5 separate regions of the Homo sapiens genome follow, and regions 1, 2, 3 and 4 are each linked to region 5. The links are contacts of gene promoters, found by promoter capture Hi-C in human tissues and cell types (Jung and others, 2019). All regions are on one chromosome and are shown on one strand. The core of a region is centred on a gene start or on the middle of the fragment in contact, and the rest is flanking DNA. Distances in the headings are between cores, read along the strand shown. Region 1 has its middle 87 kb from the start of APP-DT. Region 2 overlaps APP (amyloid beta precursor protein). Region 3 has its middle 100 kb from the start of APP-DT. Region 4 overlaps APP-DT (APP divergent transcript). Region 5 holds the start of CYYR1 (cysteine and tyrosine rich 1).

What was found. The method cuts DNA at HindIII sites, captures the fragments that hold promoters and counts their contacts. A contact is called where the count stands out against the background at its distance.
Region 1: a fragment that was not itself captured here is called in contact with the fragment with the promoter of CYYR1 in region 5 in 2 of the 25 tissues and cell types used here (dorsolateral prefrontal cortex and lymphoblastoid cells).
Region 2: a contact is called between a fragment that was not itself captured here and the fragment with the promoter of CYYR1 in region 5, in 2 of the 25 tissues and cell types used here (heart left ventricle and stomach).
Region 3: a fragment that was not itself captured here is called in contact with the fragment with the promoter of CYYR1 in region 5 in 2 of the 25 tissues and cell types used here (dorsolateral prefrontal cortex and lymphoblastoid cells).
Region 4: a fragment that was not itself captured here is called in contact with the fragment with the promoter of CYYR1 in region 5 in 1 of the 25 tissues and cell types used here (heart left ventricle).

The regions. Positions count from the first base shown.
Region 1 is chr21:26,255,583-26,259,716 of GRCh38, reverse strand. No RefSeq gene overlaps it. Among named protein-coding and RNA genes, the nearest start is that of APP-DT, 87 kb to the right of the region's middle. The HindIII fragment of the contact is 3,349 bases long and covers 1-3,318 here.
Region 2 is chr21:26,151,176-26,155,488 of GRCh38, reverse strand. The region is part of intron 1 of APP (amyloid beta precursor protein); the gene reads left to right. LOC124900466 (a long non-coding RNA gene) reads left to right here. Exons shown (of 2, transcript XR_007067829.1): 1 at 1-4,313. Among named protein-coding and RNA genes, the nearest start is that of APP, 17 kb to the left of the region's middle. The HindIII fragment of the contact is 4,365 bases long and covers 1-3,493 here.
Region 3 is chr21:26,271,625-26,275,881 of GRCh38, reverse strand. No RefSeq gene overlaps it. Among named protein-coding and RNA genes, the nearest start is that of APP-DT, 100 kb to the right of the region's middle. The HindIII fragment of the contact is 9,017 bases long and covers 1-4,257 here.
Region 4 is chr21:26,197,455-26,201,898 of GRCh38, reverse strand. All of the region lies in intron 2 of APP-DT (APP divergent transcript), which reads right to left. Among named protein-coding and RNA genes, the nearest start is that of APP-DT, 29 kb to the right of the region's middle. The HindIII fragment of the contact is 3,797 bases long and covers 381-4,177 here.
Region 5 is chr21:26,571,394-26,575,841 of GRCh38, reverse strand. CYYR1 (cysteine and tyrosine rich 1) reads left to right here and starts at 2,556. Exons shown (of 4, transcript NM_001320768.2): 1 at 2,556-2,974. The coding sequence starts at 2,902. The HindIII fragment of the contact is 7,865 bases long and covers 1-4,448 here.

The DNA of each region.
Region 1 (4,134 bases), core at 395-2,894, 320 kb after region 5:
CACAATGGAGCTCACAGCAACCTCCGCCTCCCAGGTTCAAGCTATTCTCCTGCCTCAGCCTCCTGAGTAGCTGGGACTACAGGCGCACGCCACCATGCCCAGCTAATTTTTGTGTTTTTAGTAGAGATGGGGTTTTACCATGTTGGCCAGGATGGTATCGATCTCTTGACCTCGTGATCCACCCGCCTCGGCCTCCCAAAGTGCTGGAATTACAGGCGTGAGCCACCACACCCGGCCCAAGTTAAATATACTCTTACCATACAACTCAGCAGGCTCACTCCTAAGTATTTACCCAAGAGAAATAATAACACACACCCAGACAAGACATGTACTTGAATGTACATGAATAGCCTCTTTATTCATTAATAGCCAAAAAGTTGTAAACAACCCAAATGTTCATCAACTAGTGAATATAAACAAATTATTGTATAGCCATATCATGATATATTATGTGAAAAAAGTGAGACACAAAAGACTGCACACCGTATGAGTCTATTTATATAAAATTCTAGATAGGGTAAAACTACAATGACCAAAAGTTATTTAGTGGTACCAGGAACAAGAGATAGGGAGAAGCAATTGACAGGAAAGGAGTAGGAGAGAATTTTCTGGCAGGATTGATATGTTTTATATGATGATTGTGGTAATTATACAGCTGTACTACATGATTAAAACAGAATTACAAATGTAAAATTGGTCAATTTTGTTGTATGACATTTACTTCATTAAAGATGATATGGTTTTGTTTTTTTTTTGAGACGGAGTCTCACTCTGTCACCCAGGCTGGGGTGCAGTGGCGCAATCTCGGCTCACTGCAAGCTTCACGCCGTTCTCCTGCCTCAGCCTCCAGAGTAGCTGGGACTACAGGTGCCCACCACCATGCCCAGCTAATTTTTTTGTATTTTAATAGAGACAGGGTTTCACCGTGTTAGCCAGGATGGTCTCGGTCTCTTGACCTTGTGATCCACCCGCCTAGGCCTCCCAAAGTGCCGGGATTACAGGCATGAGCCACCACCCAGCCCAAGATGATGTTTTTAAGAACAGAAAAATTTTAGAAAGGTCATATTCCACCATAATATTCACTCCATAACAGAAGTCTAATTTCAAAAACAGGCTGCTTTATATTATTCATAGATAATTATTACAACCTTGTGTATTAGTCTCTTCTCCCATTGCTATAAAGAAATGCCAGAGACTGGGTAATTTATGAAGAAAAGAGGTTGAATTAGCTTACAGTTCTGCAGGTTTTAAAGGAAGCATAGCTGGAGAGACCTCAGAGAGCTTTTACTCATGGCAAAAGGCAAAGCTGAAGCAGTTATGCTCATACGGCTGAAGCAGGAGGAAGAGAGAGAGAGGGGAGGCATTATACACTTTTAAACAACCAGATCTCATGAGCACTCACTCATGATCAAGCAGCATCAAGGAGGAAATCAGCCCCCATGATCCAATATCACCTCCCACCAGGCCCACCTCCAGCACTGGGGATTACAAGCAATGAACAGTTGGAAATTACAATTAAACATGAGATTTGGGTGGGGACAGAGATCCAAACCACATCGCCTTGGAAAACTCCTAAGAATCCTCTAAAAACTATACTAATAAAAATAATATGAGAATTCAGTAAGGTGATTATGAAATCAATACACAAAAAAAATTGAGCTTTATTATATGCAAATAATTAGTAGAAAGGTTACTTATAATAAGAAACATCACATTCCAAAAGTTTATAAAATACATATGTAATAACTATATAAAGAACCTTTAAATCACTCCCGAAGGAAAAAAAAATGAAAAAATAAGTAACTGTAAAGGTATACTCTGTTCTTGGTTAGGAAAACTCTGGGTTAAAACTCTTTTTTTATTGAGCTATAAGTTAATTATAATCTCAATCAATGATATTCCATTGGAAATGGAAGTTAATATGTATACTTCAGTTGTTAAGTCACAATAAATTCCATTCACATCAAAGATGTATATGCTAAAAATAAAGCCATAAAGTTTAGGAAAAAATATGTTTTTTTAATTATCCTAGGGTTGGGAAGATCTATCTAAGCATACATAAAATTCAAAATTCAGACACATAAAAACTTATCAATTTGACTACATAAAAATCTTAACTCTCTGTGATGCAAAAATGTATTGTAACTAAATTTAAATGATAGATGACAAAGTAGGTAAAAACGAATTTGCAACACAAATGATGAAAGGCTAATTTCCTTAGAATTAAAACAGCTGTTACAATTTAATTCTTTTTTAAAAAGACAACCAACCAATAGAAAATATGACAAATATAGAAAGTAATAAATAAGAGGAAAACGTGCAAAGTGGCCCATAAAAATAAGAAGATGCTCAACTTCACTTATAATTAAAGAAATTCATGTTAAATAGAAATGAGGGGCCATTTTTCAGATAGACAAGAAGCCAAATATTTGTTAATGTTTGGCATGTCCACGTACACGTAATACAATAAGAAACAGAACACAGAGCTTTATAACTATGGGACAACAAGAGTTGCCTTATATGAAAGTAAGTAATACACTGAATCCCAGTGGGTCCCCTGCTCCACCCCAGTGGGGTGAGATGCAGGGAGTACAAAGCCCTGGGTACCTTCAACCTAAAGCAGAGGACTCCAGGTTCACCTCCAAGAGGCATAAGGAAAGCACTGGGAAACTGCATTCTCACTTTCATCAAGCTGTACTGCAGTAATTCTCCAACTTGGGCCACCATCAAAATCAGCTCAAGATCTTGTTAAACCCAGATTCCTGGGCCCTGCCACCAGAGTTTCTGATTCAGATTTAAGATGGGACTTGAGAACTTGCATTTCTAGTAAGTTTCAGGTGGTGCTACTGCTGCTGCTCCAGGTGTTGAGACCCACTGGTCTAGCGAGTACCCTTTCCCTTTCTTGCTAGCTGTTTTAGTAGTAAATTGAAGTCAAAGCAACATTGATCAGTCTCATTTTTTTTTTTTTTTTTTGAGACCGAGTCTCACTCTGTTGCCCAGGCTGGAGTGCAGCGGCATGATCTCAGCTCACTACAACCTCTGCCTCCAGGGTTCAAGCGATTTTCCTGCCTCAGCCTCCTGAGTAGCTGGGACTACAGGTGCACATCACCACACCCAGCTAATTTTTGTATTTTTAGTAGAGATGGGATTTCACCATGTTGGCCAGGCTGCTCTCGAACTCCTGGCCTCAGGTGATCTGCCCACCTTGGGCTCCCAAAGTGCTGGGATTACAAGCATGGGCCACCGCGCCCAGCCCAGAGTCTCATTCTTCTCTGTCAATATTCAAAAATAGACCAGCCCTCTGTCATCTGTCTTCTGGCTTAGCTGACCAATGGTAGTAAAGACATGAATAAAAAAGATTTTCCGGGCACAGTGCAGTGGCTCACGCCTATAATCCCAGCACTTTGGAAGGCCGAGGCAGGTGGATCACTTGAGGTCAGGAGTTCAAGACCAGCCTCGCCAACATGGTGAAACCCCATCTCTACTAAAAATACAAAAATTAGCTGGGTAGTAGTGGTGCACCTGTAATCCCAGCTACTCCGGAGGCTGAGGCAGAAGAATCGCTTGAGCCTAGGAGGCGGAGGTTGCAGTAAGCCGACATGGCACTACTGCACTCCAGTCTGGGTGACAGAGTGAAACTCTGTCTCAAAAAAAAAAAAAAAAAAAAAAAAAAAAGGCTTTCCCACAGTGCTAGTGGGAGAGTAAATATATGCAGTCCTTTTTAATTTGGCAATATTTTTGAAAATTCATATGCCCAGAAATTCCATTTCTAAGAATTTCTCCTGCAATATACATACTCTCCCCAAATGCAAAAATGTTATATGTACAATAATGTTTATTGTAGCATTATGATAATTATTGCTTCTATGAAAATAGAAGCAACTTAAGGCCAGTCAATTGGGAATCATTTAAAAAAATAAATTAGGATATCTCTCAGGACAATACTTTGTAGCCATTAGGGTAAATACAATAGATTTATCACACTGAAGCAGAAATATGATGACGATGTATAATAAAGCACAAAAGGTAGATTACAGAATAGTACCTGGAAAGTGATCCTTTTTTGTCAAATTAAAAAGATATATCTTATATATATAAGGTTTGACATGCAATATGTATAATGTGATTGCTATG
Region 2 (4,313 bases), core at 62-2,561, 420 kb after region 5:
AGAGGTATAATAGGACCGTTAGATCTAATTTAAAGTTTTCAAGTAGCCACATAAAAAAATAAGCAGGCGAAATTAATTTTAGTCTGTCACTAAATTCAAAATGTTATTTCAACAGGGGGTCAATATAAAAGCTATTTATGAAATACATTATTTTTTCATATTATGTCTTCAAAATGTTCACATTTCACATATTTATTTTTTATTTTATTATTACTATTTTTTTGAGACGGAGTCTCACTCAGTCGGTTGCCCAGGCTAGAGTGCAATCTAGCTTGCTCATTGCAATCTTGGCTCATTGCAACCTCCACCTCCTGGGTTCAAGCAGTTTTCCTGCCTCAGCCTCCTGAGTAGCTGGGATTACAGGCGTGTGCCATCACACCCAGCTAATTTTTTTATTTTTGGTAGGGATGAGATTTCACCATGTTGGCCAGGCTGGTCTTGAACTCCTGACCTCAAGTGACTTGCCGCTTTGGCCTCCCAAAGTGCCGGGATTACAGTTGTGAGCCACCGCACCTGATTACATATTTCACATATTTTAATTCAGACCAGCTGCATGTCAAGTACTTAGTAGCCACAGATGGCTAGTGGTTACTGTATTGGACAGTGCAGCTCTAGGAGAGTCTCTTCAACCTGCAGCTGTCTAGGAAGAGAATCATAGTTTCTGGAACAGGTAGAATCTATAAGACCTCCTTTTTAAGCTTCTCCACTTTACAGATGAAGAAAGTAATATCTGGAGATGTTGAGTTGTTCAAAATCACCCACATTTTAAGGATCAAGAGCCCAGTCCCTGTTCTCTAACTTCTAATCTCTTTCTTCATCACTTTTTCTGCTTCATGTTGCTGCATCCCCTTTAGTTACTAAGGTACTAACGTTAGGTTGTTGCTATCAGTTAAATATTAAGCCAGGAGCTTTAAGACAATCTGGCCCACTTGAAGGCATGGCCTGATTTGGACAAAACTTGTGGGGTAGGATGAATAGAGTTACCAGGCATATCTTCAACCTCTCTGTGGACTAGTATTATACATATATGAGATGATGTAGGGTCCAGTGATCAGTTCATCTTTTTCTATTGTGAGCACTGTTGGAATAGGAATGGGGGGACCTTTTGGGACCCAGGATATGTGATTCTGAACCCTGAAATGTCAGATGCCCACTAAAAGGAAGGGGAGAGATGGACCTGTCATTACCTTACACATTTTATTGTCTGTATGGGTATGTAAACATGTACAGATTATAAGGAATTGCACTTCATTTCTGGGCTTCTGGAAACACAGGTATTAAGATTTCATTTACCTCCCCTTGTTTTGGAAGGCTTATTGTGTGTGTGCCCATAGTTCTTACCCAGTTACACTTAAAGTATGATACTTTTTGACAGCTTAAGCCTATTGCATTCCTGGCATGTAAAATAGTTATTTTCAGAATGTAAGCAAATGTGGAAAGCTTACTGCCTGACATGGAGGGTTGGAGAAGTGGGATTGGTGTTCTTTTGTTGTAAACTCATTTTTGTGAAATATTTGCTTTACAACGTGAAGCATGCATGATGGATGAACTTTTAGAATTGAAAGTTATTTTTCATTTCATTCCTGAAATATTTACCAGCATGGATGTTGACTGAGTGCTTTGAAGAGTTTGCTTAGTCATATAACTTAGGTTTTATGATTTTAGATTTAATTAAACTTAAAGTTTTCCTGTTTGATCCTCAGGACTTCTCATCTGTGGCAAGGCTTTACTCACAAAGGAAATATCAACCTTGAAGTTAAGCATGCCCTGTGTTTCTTTATATTCTGATGAAAACGATTGAAGTTTGCCAGTGCTGTGTCTGGGACAATGCTTAGAGGATTCATGGCTTGTAGGAATGAGTTAAAAGTACAAGGATATTGGCTGGCATGGTGACTGTCGCCTGTAGTCCCAAAACTTTGAGAGTCTGAGGTCAGAGGATTGCTTGAGCTCAGGAGTTTGAGACAAGCCTGGGCAGCATAAGGAGATCCCATCTCTATGTTTTTTAAAAAAGTGAAAAACAACAACAACAACAAGGTACAGGGGTATCTGCGTTTCCTTAGGCAGCTGTCTTATATACCTTTAACCTTAAAAAAATCCACCATTTTTAAAACAGTGTTTTCTGTTGTTTTTCTTAGTAAATATAAACAATAGGAACTGAAGTTTAGGGCTTAAAATTTTTGAGAGAATAATTTTTATTTCAGTAGCTTTTGGGGTACAAGTGGTTTCTTGTTACTTAGTTGAATTACGTAGTGGTGAATTCTGAGATTTTAGTGCACTTAAGTAGGGTACCTTGTACCTAATGTCTAGTTTTTCTTTTAATCCCTAGTCCCCTATTACCCTCCTCCTCGTGAGTCTCTAAAGTCCAATATGTCCCTCTGTGTGCCTTTGCTTATTCCTAACTTAGTTCCCACTTATAAGAGAGAACATACGGTTTTTGGTTTTCCAATTCCTGAATTACTTTACTTAGAATAATGGCCTCCAGCTCTATCCAAGTTGTTGCAAAAGACATTATTTTGTTCCTTGTAATGGCTGAGTAGTAGTCCCTGATATATATATGCCACATCTTCTTTATCCTCTCATTAGTCAGTGGCCACTTAGGTTGGTTCTGCATCTTTGCATTTGTGAATTGTGGTCCTGTAAACATATGTGTACAAGTGTCTTTTTCATACAATGACTTCTTTTCCTCCGGGTAGATACCCAGTATTAAGATTGCTGGATCAAATGGTAGATCTACTTTTAACTCTTTAGGAAATCTCCATAATGTTTTCCATAGAGGTGGTACTAGTTTACATTCTGAGAGAATAATTTTTGTAAAATTATGTTTAAGCTAGATTTGGAATTGGGAAAGAATTACATTCTTTATAGGAAGCTTTTGAAAAATATATTTAAAAATATATAAAAATATGCATAATCCTACCACCCACAAATGTCTGTATTATTATGTCATTTCTAAACCATTTTTGAGATTATGCTATAGATTACGTTTTAGATCCTACATTTTATTTCTTAACATTAAATCTCATACTATTTTAAGTTCTTTGTACATGTAATGTTTACTGAATGGGTAAATCTGTTTAGGGAAACTGGAGCTATGTAGTTGTGGACTTGTGCTTTTGTTTTGTTTTGTTTTGTTTGTTTGTACATTTGCTTTTTAGAAATGTCTATTCAGATCCTTGGCCCATTTTTTTTTTTTTTTTTTTTTTTGAGATGGAGTCTTGCTCTGTCGCCCAGACTGGAGTGCAGTGGCGCGATCTCGGCTCACTGCAAGCTCCGCCTCCCGGGTTCACGCCATTCTCCCGCCTCAGCCTCCCGAGTAGCTGGGACTACGGGCGCCCGCCACCACGCCCGGCTAATTTTGTTTTTGTTTTGTATTTTTAGTAGAGATAGGGTTTCACCATGTTGGCCAGGATGGTCTTGATCTCCTGACCTCGTGATCCCCCCGCCTCGGCCTCCCAAAGTGCTGGGATTACAGGCGTGAGCCACCGTGCCCAGACAGACATGTGCTTTTTTATTTGGCATTTCTAGCCTGAACATAGGCTGGAAGTAGTGACTTAGAGAGGGATTGTTTGCCAAATATCAGGTAATATTTTAATTATTTATTATTTATTGTAATGCTGTGAATCAGGAGTCCCTAACCCCTGGGCCATGGACTGGTACCGGTCTGTGGCGTGTTAGGAGCTTTGCTGCACAGCAGTAGGTGAGCAATGGGTGAGTGAGTGTTGCTGCCTGAGCCCTGCCTCTTGTCACATCAGCAGGGCATTAGATGCTCATAGGAGCGCAAACCCTATTGTGAACCGCATGTAAGAAAGTGAGAGCTGCGTTGCACACTCCTTATTAGAATCTAATGCCTGATGATCTGAGGTGGAGCAGTTTCATCCCGAAACCAAACCACAAAATTGTCTTTCATCAAACCATTCCCTGGTGCCAGAAAGGCTGGGGACCACTGCTATAAATTGCTGCTGTCAAGTAGTGTTACGCATGGTGGTCTTTAACATAAAAAAAAAAGGTAATGAACGTACACCACACAGATTAGCAAAAATAAGGAAAGGCTGATCTAGTAGTTCAAACAAGCAATCCTCTTATTTAATGGTTCTGTGATTGCTCGTGTAGGCAGAAGCTTAACTGTAAGTTGTTGCATTTGACAGGCAAATGTAGCTGGAGCTGGAATGTAGATATTAGTGAAATTGTGATTTCAGTTTACTGGAGCCATTCAGTGGGAGCATGAAGTGGGTTACATGATTACACGGATATAAATAAAGCGTCCTCCTTGCCACTTCACTGCTGTTAAAGTCTCTCCTGATGTTATGTGGTGA
Region 3 (4,257 bases), core at 428-2,927, 300 kb after region 5:
CCAATTTCCTTCTTCTGCATGTGGATATCCCGTTTCTACCAATGTTTATTTGAAATCTTTTTCCTTTTTTGATGTAGGCATGTATTGTCATAAAATTCCCTCACAGGACTGCTTTTGCTGCATTCCATAAATTTTGATATGTTGTGTTACCATTTTCATTTGTCTTAAGATATTTTTTAATTTCTCTTTTAATTTCCCCTTTGACCCATCAGTTATTCAGAAACAGGCTGTTTAATTCTCATATATTTGGGAATTTTTCAAGGTTCCTCTTGTTATGGATTTCTAGTTTTATGCCATTGTGGTCAGAAAAAATACTCAATATTATTTCAATCATTTTAAATGTGTTAAGACTTGTTTTCAGCCTATCATATGATATATCCTGGAGAATGTTCCAGATGCACTTGAGAAGAATTTATATTCTCTTGCTGTTGAATGGAATGTTCTATAAATGTCTGTTAGGTTTATTTGATCTGAAGCGTAGTTCAGGGCAGGTGCAGTGCCTCACATTTGTAATCCCAGCACTTTGGAAGGCCAAGCCAGGTGAATTGCTGAAGCCCAAGAGTTTGAGGCCAGACTGGAAAACATGGCAAAACCCTGTCTCCACAAAAAAATACAAAAATTAGCTGGGAATGGTGGTGCATGCCTGTAGTTCCAGCCACTCAAGAAGCTGAGGTGGGGGTATCACTTGAGCCAGGGGAGGTAGAGGTTGCAGTAAGCCATGGTCTTGCCACTACATTCCAGCTTGGGCAAAAGAGTGAGACCCTGTCTCAAAATAAATAAATAAATAAAGCATACTTCAAGTCCAATATTTTCTGTCTAGATGATCTGTCCAATGTTAAAAGTGTAGTATTTAGTTATCCTACTATTATTATATTACAGTCTATCTCATTCCTTGGATCTATTAATATCTGCTTTACCAATTTAGGTGTTCCAACTTTGGATGGATGCATATCTACAACTGTCATATCTTCTTGATGAATTGACCACTTTATCGTCATATAATGACCTTCTTCACCTCTTTTTATAGTTTTTGACTTAAGGTCTATTTTGTGTGATATAAGTATAGCTATCCCTGCTCTATTTTGATTTCTATTTCCATGGAATAACTTTTTCCATCCCTTCATTTTTGGTCTATGTATGTTCTTAGAGATGAAATGAGTCTCTTGTTGGCAGCATATCACTGAGTCTTTTTTTTGGTTAATCCATTTAGCCACTTGATGTATTTTGATTGAATAACTTAGTTCATTTACATTTAAAGTAATTATTGATAGATAAAGACTTACTATTGCCATTTTGTTAATTGTTTTCTGGTTAATTTGTAGATTACTTGTTCCTCTCTTCCTCTCTTATGGTTGTCTTTTGTGGCTTGATGATTTCCTATCACAGTATGCTTTGAATCCTTTCTTTTTATCTTTGGTGTATCCACTAAGGAGTTGTTTTTTTTTTTTTTTTGGCCACTATGAGGATTATATAAAACATCATATGCTAAGAACATCCCTTGTTAAGCTGATAATGATTTAACTTTGATCACTTGCACAAACTCTATACTTTTATTCCTCTCCATTTGTTTTTTTGACATGTTTTGTAATTTTTAGTTTGTGTCCCTTAACAAGTTAGTGTAACTACAGTTGTTTTTATAGTTTTGTCTTTTAATTTTCATGCTAGAAACAAAATTTATTTTCACACCACTGTTCCAATCTAAGAGTGTTCTGAGTTTAACTACATACTTACTTTTACCAGTAAGTTTTATGTTTTAATATACTTTGATGTTGCTACTTAACAATTTTTCCTTAAGCTTGAGGGACTATTGTTAGCATTCTTGTAAGGTAGGTCTAATGGTGATAAATTCCCTCACCTTTTGTTTGTCTCAGAAAGTTTTTATCTCTTCTTCACCTTTAAGGGACAGGATTGCTGGGTATAGTATTCTTGGTTGGCAGGGTTCTTTTTTTTATTTCAGTTTTGAATATATCATCCCTTTCCCTTCTACCCTTCAGGATTTCTGTGGAAAATCCATTGACAGTCTTCTAGAGGTCCCATGTATGTAACAAGTCACTCCTCCCTTACTGCTTTCAATATTCTCTTTGTCTTTAACTTTTGACAATTTGATTGTAATGTGTCTTGGTGTGTGTCCCTTTGAATTTATCCTATAACAGACCATTGAGCTTCATGGATATGGATTTCTATTTTCTTTTCCAGACTTAGGAAATTTTCTGCCATTATTTCCTTGAATGTTTTCTGTCCCTTTCTGTTTCTTTTCTCCTTCTGGTACACTGATAATGTATATATTATTCCACTTAATGGTGTCCCACAAATCCCCTACACTGTCTTCACCCTTTTTCATTCTTTTTTCTTTTGACTTCTTAGATTGGATGACTTCTAATGACTTGTCATCAAGTTTGCTAATTCTTTCTTCTGCTTTATATAGATTGGTATTGAAACCCTCTATTAAATTTTTGAGCCCCATTATTGTATTCTTCAGCTCAATTATTTTTGTTTGCTGCTATTTTTATATTTTCTATCTTTTTTTAAAGTTCTCAGTTTGTTCTTGCATTGCTCTCCTTGTCTCAGTAAGTATCTTTATGACTGTCCTTTTGAATTCCCTGTCATGTAAATCACATATCTCCACTTCATTGGGGTTGGCTTCCAGAGATGTATCTTATATTTAGAACACATTTCCACGTTTCTTCATTTTTCCTTGGCTCTCATGTTTGTTTCCATGCATTAGATAAAAGAACCATCTCTCTCAATTTTGTTAGACTGGTCCCATGTAAAAGATGTTTCTCCCCCATCAGCCCAGCCAGAGATTCCTGGTGCTTCCAAACTCCTTGTACTCATCTAACCTGATGTCTTTGTTCTTAGTGTCCCCAAAGAAATTAGAGAGTGTCAAGTCATGCTATTGCCTTGAGAGAAGTGGGATAGAAGTCAGTTCCTTAGAATGCAGCTGAAGAGGTTGAGGTGTAAGATATGTTCCAGTTCCTTCTTTCTTTGCAGAGAAGTTGACAGCCAGAGTTTATCTCACACTTGTTCTGCTGTACACAAGGTGAGTGACTGAGAGAGATACTTGTATTCTTGATCAGACTTCTCACTTTGGACCTGTGGAAATATTTGCTGAAAATTTGCATGTTTAAAAGTCATCTTTATGTTCTCTGTAACTTAGGAAACTCAGGAATGTAGAGCTCCATTAACTCCAAGATCTAGGTAATTTAGAAGCCAGTACCTTGTTGGAAACTGTAAAAGATGGAGTCCTTGGTGCTTGCAGAAACTACTTCCAGGACCTGCAGATCTGTATTTACTGATGGAGCAAGCCAGAGAAGATATTTCAGAGAACGCCCACTTTCCTGTTCATGCAAGCAAAAGTCTCTCACTCTTCTAGTAGGGACAGGCTTCTGGTCTGGAGTTATTGCTGAAACAAGCCAGAGCAGAAGGGTCAGGGACTTCTCACTTTCCTTTTCAGTCATGGAGAGGTCCCTCTATCTCCTTCCAATGAGATATTTCAGGAGTTTATCTCCTGAGCAAACTGAGAAAAAGAGCATGAGGAGTGCCATCCCTTTCATTCTTGCTGGTGGAGGCATCAAACTTCTTTCCATGGAGATATTGTAGGGCTGAAATCGTCACTGGAACAAGCCAAGGAAGAAAGTGCAAGTGATGCCCACTCTCCTATTCAAGCAAGCAGAAGTTTCACACCCTCCTTGTAGGGGGAGCCTTGTGTGATCTTATCGTGAAAGCAAGCCAGGGTAGAGGAATAGAGAGTGCCCCCTTTTCCTTTCAGACATGGAGAGGTACACCCTTCTCTTTCTAATGAGAGATTGCAGGAATTTATATCAGGAGACAGCAAGGGGAGAAGGCACAGGGAGTGCCTTCTTTCTGATTTAGACTCAAAGAAGTTTAATCCTTATAGGCTCCTTATTAGACTCCCAGATACCAGCTTGTTAGAAGCCAGAGCCACAGGGAGTTCCTTGAAAAGTCTTAGGCTGAACCCTCTTTAGGGGGAAGTTAGAAGTTGGGCTGATCCCTGGGGGCTAGAGTAGCTGGGAGTCCTCACATGGTTCAAAAGCCCCTTTGTCCATTGTGCTTGAGAGAAATCCTCCAATGCACTGTCCCTACTGTTCTTCAAGCATGGTAACTTAAGATCAAAGCCCTCCCACAGGAACTGTAAAAGTTGGGCACTATACATGTGGTACAAGACTCCCAACCTTCTGGAAGAAGCTGGGAGTTGGAGTTTCCTTCCTAATTATAAGGCGTTGTGCTCATGGTAGG
Region 4 (4,444 bases), core at 1,030-3,529, 370 kb after region 5:
GTAAGCAAACATGTTATTTCTGTGTTGTTTCAATTCATGCTTCCAATTTTGAACCTGCTAAAAAAAATGCATTTTTAGGGGGATAAAAGTCTGCTATATGTCAATGTCAACCATCTCTGTGTTTGTCTTCTGATATGCGCACCTGAGAACCATTATACTAGAGTATAATTTATACTCTAGTAGTATAAATTATATTAAAAATCCAGGCTATTTATAGGATACCAATGAATCCATAAATATAAAAATGTATGTACTGTAGAAGCAGTGATAGAATCTATAAAATGTAGAATTTCTATAAAACATACATTTGCTAATTCAAGATACTCCTAGGTTATTTTTCTTATTAAGGCTTTTCTTAGAAATTAACAATAAAGATGTAAATATCGATTTAGAAGAAATGAGCAATGAATTTGGTTATAATTGTTTAAAAGTTTAATGTTTCTTGGTATATATAATTTAATTATGTATATGTTAATTAAATGTATAACTTAATTTATGCCTATTGTTTCATTACGTGAATTATTTGCAGAATATAGGCTTTTAACAATGTGGTAAGATGGATGGAGGTTGCTAGGTAATATAATTCATTCCTCATAAGTTAACTTACTCAGGGATGGAACGTTGAAATGAAGAACTCTTTGGTAACATCAGATAAAATATTATTTTAATTAGGTATTTACTCTTTTATAAAAAGTCCACTTAATACAAATGAATTTTTAAAAATTCAACATCCCATAAATTCCAAGACTCTCTATAGGCTTTAAACTGACACCAGCACAAACACATTGATAAAATTTCTTTTTCTTTTTTTCTTTTTTTTTTTTCCTGAGGCAGGGTCTCACTCTGTCACCCAGGCTGGAAGGCAGTGGTGCCATCTCAGCTCACTGCAGCCTCAACCTCCCAGGCTCAAGCAATCCTATCTCAGCCTCCTGAGTAGCTGGGACCACAGGTGTGCACCACTACCCCTGACTAATTTTTTTATTTTTCACAGAGACAGGATTTCACCATGTTGCCCAGGCTGGTCTTGAACACCTGGGCTCAAGTAGTCCACCTGCCTCAGCTTCCCAAAGTGCTAGGATTACAAGCATGTGCCACCTCGCCTGGCCTAAATTTTCAATGATAAAGATAATTCATATAGATAGTCGGGGACAGCAGTGGGCATCTGTAGGCCCAGCTACTTGGGAGGCTGAGGCGGGAGGGTCCCATGAGCCTAGAAGTTTGAGGCCATCCTGGGAAACATTATGAGGCCCCATCTCTAATATGAATAAATAAATAAATAAATTGTTCCCACAAGTTAAGACACAGAAGTAAGAGAGTTCTTCTCAGACAGTGTGGTTTTATAAAAAGGAAAACACTACAAAAGAACCACCATAAATAATTTTTAAGTACTTCGAAAATGTATTCCTATCAATTCAACTCAGATCATAGTCAAAATATTCATCAGAATGTAATAAGCCATATTAGCAAGTAATAAACTCCTATTCTCTAGGACATAACATTCAAGCTACTTATCCAGAAATCCAGTTGTTCTATGCAGCAAAATTACATGTACAAATAATATATTTAATTTACTAAAACAAAATCCTCAAAGTTACAAGAAACCCGATATAATAAAAAGATATTCACAATTACTAGTGGCTATGGTTATTGGATGGATTAGAGATCAACAAGAAGAAATAAATCAAGATAGTAAACTCTATAATGTATAAGAGAAGGTAGTTTAATCTCTCCATGGGGGAGTTCTTGTTCCCAGAATCTCAAAAAATTTTATACCTTGGATACTAATAATCAGCAAAATGCTCCCAGTGGTATAAGTAACATTTTCATTTTTCAGGGAAAAAAATTAAGATACAGAATAGTTAATGAAGAATATTCACCAATTAATTTACCATAACTATAAGCTTGTGGGGTTTTTTTCCTGGGGGAAAGAAGAGATCCATTTTTCCCTGTGCCAATTCTGGAATATGAATTAAGGGAAGAGTTTAAGGCAATGGGAAGGGGTTTGGATATTTTTTAATATTTGAAATCTCTAGGAAACCACACAAATGTAGACACAGCCTATAAACCCCCAGACATGATTAGCAAAAAGCATGGAACGAGAAATGACACAATCCTGCATACTTGGCTTGGGAGCTCATTCCTGCCTCTTCATGTCTGTAACTGCAGCAACAACCACAGGACCCAGCACGTAAGAGGTGCTCTCTAAATATTGGTTGAATCAATAAATTAATGAACCTTAATCTCAACTGTACAGTCTTTTCATTTGAAAAATCAGAAAAGAACTTCTTGTCCAGTGTCTGACTCAGCGCTTGGTGTTTTCCTTTATGCTCATACTCAAGCTTTGTGCTTCTTTGGATTTTCCAAAACTCCTCTGGCCCTACTGCCACATCAGCACAACGTGACTGAGATGTACATTCCACCTTTTGATCATTTAGGGTGGAATCTGACTGTTTAATTTTCCTTGCCCTTTGGGAACCCAGTTTAAAACATTTGTAATCTTTGTCCTCTCCAAACAACATATTTTAGTTCACACTTAATAAAATGTGCTAAAGATTCTATTTATGTATGATTCATAATGCTAATGAATTCATCAATCCCATTATCACACATCATTCTGTAAATGTCAAACAGGCTGTAGCTGACAAGTTCATTGCCATTAAATATAAGTGCATAGATGTGTACACATTTGCCCTTGATGAGGGTCATCCATGGCCAACCTTTGACTTTCTATGTTTCTGCTATTTGAATGTCAATAATTGTATATAATTTTCACATTATTCTGTGACTACATGTCAAAATTTCCAAACATCTATGCACATTTTTATATAATTAAATGTGTGTCCTTTACTACTTTGTAAATGAGTGCCCTCTTTTTGAAAGTGGTTAAATCCTTCTATTTTAACATTTGCATTTGCTTCTCCTCCTGCCCTTTTCTGCTTCCCTCACCTTCTTACTAGTTTCTTCCAAAACTAGTAAGTTCAATAAACCACTTGCATAAGGATCTCTATCTCAGGTTCAGCCTCTAGGAAACCTCAACTAAGACTCTCTGAAAGCATCCACTTGTCCCAAACGGCAATAATAATCTTTATCTGCACAAGGCTTGGCTACATATAGGACAATATTAGAAAGTTCTTAGCCTGGGCGCAGTGGCTCACGCCTGTAATCCCAGCACTTTGGGAGACCGAGGCAGACGGATCACGAGGTCAGGAGATCAAGACCATCCTGGCTAACACGGTGAAACCCCATCTCCACTAAAAATACAAAAAATTAGCCAGGCGTGATGGCGGGCGCCTATAGTCATAGCTACTCAGGAGGCCGAGGCAGGAGAATCACTTGAACCCTGGAGGAGGAGCTTGCAGTGAGCCGAGATCGCACCACTGCACTCTAGCTTGGGCAACAGAGTGAGACTCCATCTCAAAAAAAGAAAAAAAAAGAAAGTTCTTTAGAACTTAATTTTTCTTTTTTTTTTTTTTTTAGCAATTCATGTGTCACTTTAGAAAGGAGATAATTCATGACGTTTTATTCCCATGCAGCATTTGATGACAAATGAGGCACAGAGATGTTAATGGCTTGTCTGATGCCACACAGCTATCTAGGGGACAGTTATAAATCATTGCATAATCCCATTGGTGAGCTGTATGTTAAGCAATTATATCTCTCCTTCTTTGAAGATTCTTTATCCCAGAAGCCCTTATGATCCAGCAACACTAGATTACTTGTACTATGCTTGTTTCTCACATAAGCTGTGTCTTAGTTTACACTTTTCTCCATGCCTGGAAAGCCTCCTTGCCCCACTCCAGCCCCTGTATACCTCCACTTCCTACTCATATCTACCTTTCAGGTAGCATCATTCAGTTACTCCAAGATGAGTTGGGAGCATCTCATCAATATCATATTGTATTAACCAAGTTGTTATAACACAACAACCAGATTGTTCACATTTTATTCTTAGATGTATGCCAGTAGTGCCCACGAGTTCCTCTCTTCATTTTTGAAAGCTGTACGGCTGCACCAGGTGTGGAGGCTCATGCCTGCAATCCCAGCACTTTGGGAGGTCAAAGTGGAAGATCGCTTGAGGCCAGGAGTTTATGACCAGCCTGAGCAACACAGCAAGGCCCTATCTCTAAAAAATAAATAAATAAATAAATTCGCCAGCCGTGATGGTGTGCACCTGTAGTCCCAGGTGTCTGGGAGGCTGAGGCAAGATGATCACTTCAGCCCAGGAGTTCAAGGCTGCAGTGAGCTAGGATCACACCACAGCACTCCAGCCTGGACTAGAGAGTGAAATCCTGTCTCAAAACAACAACAATAAAGAAAGTCATACATCTTTATTATGCATATATGTATGCATGTATGTATGTATGTATGTATGTATGTATGTATGTATGTATTTATTTATTTTGAGACAGAGTCTTGCTCTGTCGCCCAGGCTGGAGTTCAGTGG
Region 5 (4,448 bases), core at 1,307-3,806:
ATTTGTATATACATCTTTTTTTCCTTCAAATCCTTTCTTTTAACTACCACAATTTCTTAAATGGCTTGCCATCTTTCTTTGCCTTTCCATGTCAATTGAGTTTGGTTTCCTGAGCATCAGCATACTTCAAGGTAGCAGCTCTGGAAGGTACACTTGCAGGCAAGCTTGCTCGACCAATCTGTTGAACTGTATGAGAAGTCTTTCTGTTCTCAAAAGTAAGCTGAAAGAGACTATCCTGACCAACACTGCAACTTCCTATGGGCCTCAGTGGCAACAGCCAGCCTCTTCCTGATCTGTGTCAAAAAGTGGGCGGGAGAAGCCCCTTCTTCTATCACAGCTACCAGCCCATCAAGGATCTGTATTCAGTCTCATCTGCAAAGACAATCATTTTTCTATTCCAAGCAGGCTGGATACCATTCTTCAGCTCTGCAAACACTGACTTCCATCTGTATCTTCTTCCTTCAAGACTCAAAGGGCTTGTATGCCTGGGATTTTCTCTAGGTTCCAACCATTGTCCCAGTTATTTAGAAATTGTGCTTCCCAGTGGAATGTTTTGATCAGGCTACAAGAATGACAGGACCTAGTGAACAAGTTCTTGAACACCCTGGATTAAATGTTTGAATTTTAACCTAAGGGCAACAGGATGCTACTGAGTGAGTGAACATGATGAAATCTGTAGTTTAAGAAGAAATATTCCAGCTTCAGTCTGGCAAACATCTCTGAAGGCAGGGAGGCTGAATATAATCAAGACTATAAAAGTCTAGATTAGGACAGAAATAGATGATAATTTAAAATGCGTTTGGGTGGTGTTCAGGTGGACAGATTAGGTGAACTTGGTGATAGATTGGCCAGCGAGGATGAGAAAAAAGGTGGAACTGATCAGCCTTCTTTAGAACATGGTGGATGGTTGGGCCTTCACCAACGTGTAAAACACAGTAAAGAGCTTAGCTTATGTTTATTTTGGGGGTGATGTTTCCTCCCACTCTCGTATTCCCTTGCAGCACTGCATTTACAGGAAAAAATTCCTGGAAGAGAACTGACTAAATTAAGTACATGTGTATTTGAATTTTCGTACATATAACCACACCGTTTCCCTTAAGAGTTCATTTGGTTTTGTATTTGGTTGGTTTGATACATGAAAAGTGATGTCTCACTGTCAATTTTATTTCTATATTTATATTTATTTGTTTTGTATGAAGTGTCTATTAATATCCTTCCTCAGTTATCTCTTGGTTGTTTTTCCTATTGATTTTTTTAAGCTCAGTATAATAATGAGATTAGGACTTTGCATTGCAAATATTTTTGCCAGTTAAATGTCTGCCAACTGGAAGTATTAATTCTTATTTAGTCAAGTTGGTCAATATTTTGTTTTATGGTTTCTGAGTTTTTTATAATGCTTAGAAAAGGCTTCCCTATTCCACAATTATTTGAATGTTATCCTCTTATTTTTTAATCTAATATTTTCATAGTTGTATCTTAAATATGTAATTCATATAGAACTGATTTTGATGTAAAAAGATAAGGCTCCACAGATGGCTATTTACGGCCTCAACACTTTTCACTGAGTAACTCATCATTTCCCCTACTACTTTACATTGATATTTCTTTAAACCATAAATTAAATTGCTGTACATACTCATGTCTACTTTTGGGTTACCTTTTCTCTTTCACTAAGCCTATCTATTCCAATGTTAATCTAAACTGTTTTAATTATTGTGATATTATATGTAATATCCCATTCATTATTCCCATTCATTACTCTTGTTTTAAATAGATATTCTTACATATTTATTTTCCATATAAACTTTAGAATCAGATTGGTTTGAAAAAAATCATGTTATTTTAAAAATTGGGATCAATTTTATTTCCAAATGTATATAATAATTTGGGGAATCTTGTTGTCTTTATCCTACTAAATTTTCTTAGTGAAAAAAGTATCTCTTTACTTATTCGTATCATTTTTTTTCCTTCATGCATAACATTGAGAACTTTCTGATTTTTGTTTGCAGGAAAGAAAACTATTGGTTTGCTAAACAAGAGCTTTATAGTTGATTAACTTTGATTTTCCATGTATACACGTATTTCATTTGCTAATGACAATTTAGCTTTCATTTTTCATAAATCTTTTTCTTTCTCTTGTTTAATTGCATAGGCCAGTAACTCCAAAACGTCAAAATCATAACGACAGTGTGCACTGTTGTGTTTTTTTTTTCTGAATTTACAGGAAAAAATAATAAACATTTTATCAGCTTTCAGCAGAGATGCCATACACTTTCTGTACTTCCCAATCCTGAGTTTTCTTCACTGTCACTCTTTGTCGAATACCTTCAACCCTGAAAATTCCTTCCCTTTGTTTAAAGATAAAAAGCAAAGTTGTTCATCCATTGCTTAGAAAGGAAAAATTGTAGTGGAGGCAAGGTTAAAAAGGAGCAGGCTGAACTCCATAGCAATCGCCAAAGCAAGGGGTTAGGAAAAGTTTCTTGGTCCCCTAGTCACTCTTTAGAAGGAAGAACCCGGGCTTGGGGAGGAGTCGGGGCCACCCCCGCCCCCTGCCCGCAGTCGTTGCCACCCGCGGAGATGAAATGTGAGCCTGGGTGGCCAAGGACGCCGGAGTGGCCGCCTTCCCCGCGCCTGAGCGCAGTGGGGCGAGACAAAGAGACCTGGGCCCCCAGCGCAGCCCGTCTCGGGCCACGGGCGCCCCAGCTCCGCGGAGTCCCGCAGTCGCTGGCCCGGGACGCGCCCGGCCCGGGCTCCCTTGGAAGGCTCCCTAGGCAATGGCCGGGTCTCTGCTCCACCCGGCTCTCAGGAGCGCTGCTCTCTCCATCTGATCGCCCTCCATCCTCCCCATTCCCTCCGGTTCCGGGCTCTCCCTTCGCTCCAAGCCTCAGGCCACCGGCTTGGATGGACGCTCCGAGGCTACCCGTGCGTCCAGGGGTCTTGCTTCCGAAGTTGGTCCTGCTCTTTGTCTACGCAGGTCAGTGACGGAGGGCGGCGGAGAGGGTCAGAGGCTCGGGGCTGCCCTTGGGTCACGGTCCGGGCTAACGTGGGTTGAGCTGGACGGACCGGGACCTTTGCAGAAGGACCTTTGCAGACGCTTCTGCCTTTTCCGCGAGGCGACGGCAGAAACCCGCGCACTTCCAGCCGCACGCGGTTTTGTTTTGTTCCTTTTCCTTTAACTTTTACCTTTTGCATTTCTTTTCTTTCCCTTTCCACCTTGGAAATAGCAGTCTCGTGTTTAGGGGATTTGACTCTCTGGATAGAGTAAACTATATCCAAATAAACTTATCTGGATAGGCTAGGCAGTGGCCTCTCCATCTTCTGCTTTCTAAATAGTCCTGGTTTTCCCTCTTGTGAATAAAAAAAACTTAGAGCTTTGTTTTCGTTCTTTGGGAGATTCACAAGTGTGGTAGACTGAGCTATTGGACTGAAGTCAAACACAAGGTTTTTGAGAAGCATGAATTCACCCAGGGTCTAATCTGTACAGGTTCGTTGATTTAGATAGACACTTGTTTATAAGAGAAGGGCATCTGGTTTCCCTTCTAATTATTCGTAGTAAGAACTGCTAATAATTAACGAAGCAAAGTGGGTTTTCTTGTTTGTGATTAATATGGAGCCCCAAATGGCCTTTCATTGGTTATTCAGGTATAAAGTGTCTTACACACGTGGTCTTTGCATCAGTTCATATTCACAAAACAATGCAAGCTAAAAGCAAAGTTCTTTGTAAAATGTTTTTGTGTCTCTAACGTCCTATGACAAAAATCGCAGGCTCACCCCTGAGCCTCCAATACGAAATGTATATATAGCACTGAAATTTACCTTTGATACTCAAAAAGATATTGCAACTGAAATGATGTTCTTCAGTGTTGCACCTGAGTATTAAAAGAATTGAATTTCTCATTCAACCTTGCTAGAAAAGAGTCACCATAACTTCTGTAGACATTTTTAGCCTGTTTATTGAAATGCAAATTAGTGGCTGTCTAGGAGTTACCATTTTAAAGATGTTTTATGGCAGGAAAAATGCTGACCTTCTAATATGAAAATTCATAAAAGTAGGATAAGTTCTTCGTATTTAATGAAGAGAATTACATTTAATCTGTTTACAACATTTATTTCTTTTATTAAATTTGTATAAGGTTTTCAGAATTTGAGGGATTAACAGAGTCAACTGCATTAATATTCATTTTCTATTGAAAAAATCTCTTTATTAGTTCTTTCGAAGTAATTATGCTTTTCACTTCCTCTGCTCGACAATATTTAATACTTTCACTCACACTTATTCAACCACTCCATTGAACCACAATTTTGTTTGTTTGTTTGTTTGTTTATTATATTCCCTGTGGTAAACTGAAAGCTTCTGCTTTACACATCTGCCCCCTCCTCCTGTTTCCCCAGTGCTAGGTGCCCAGCTCCTCAGGGCTCAGGAAATCAGCGAAGCTGGCCAGCAACAA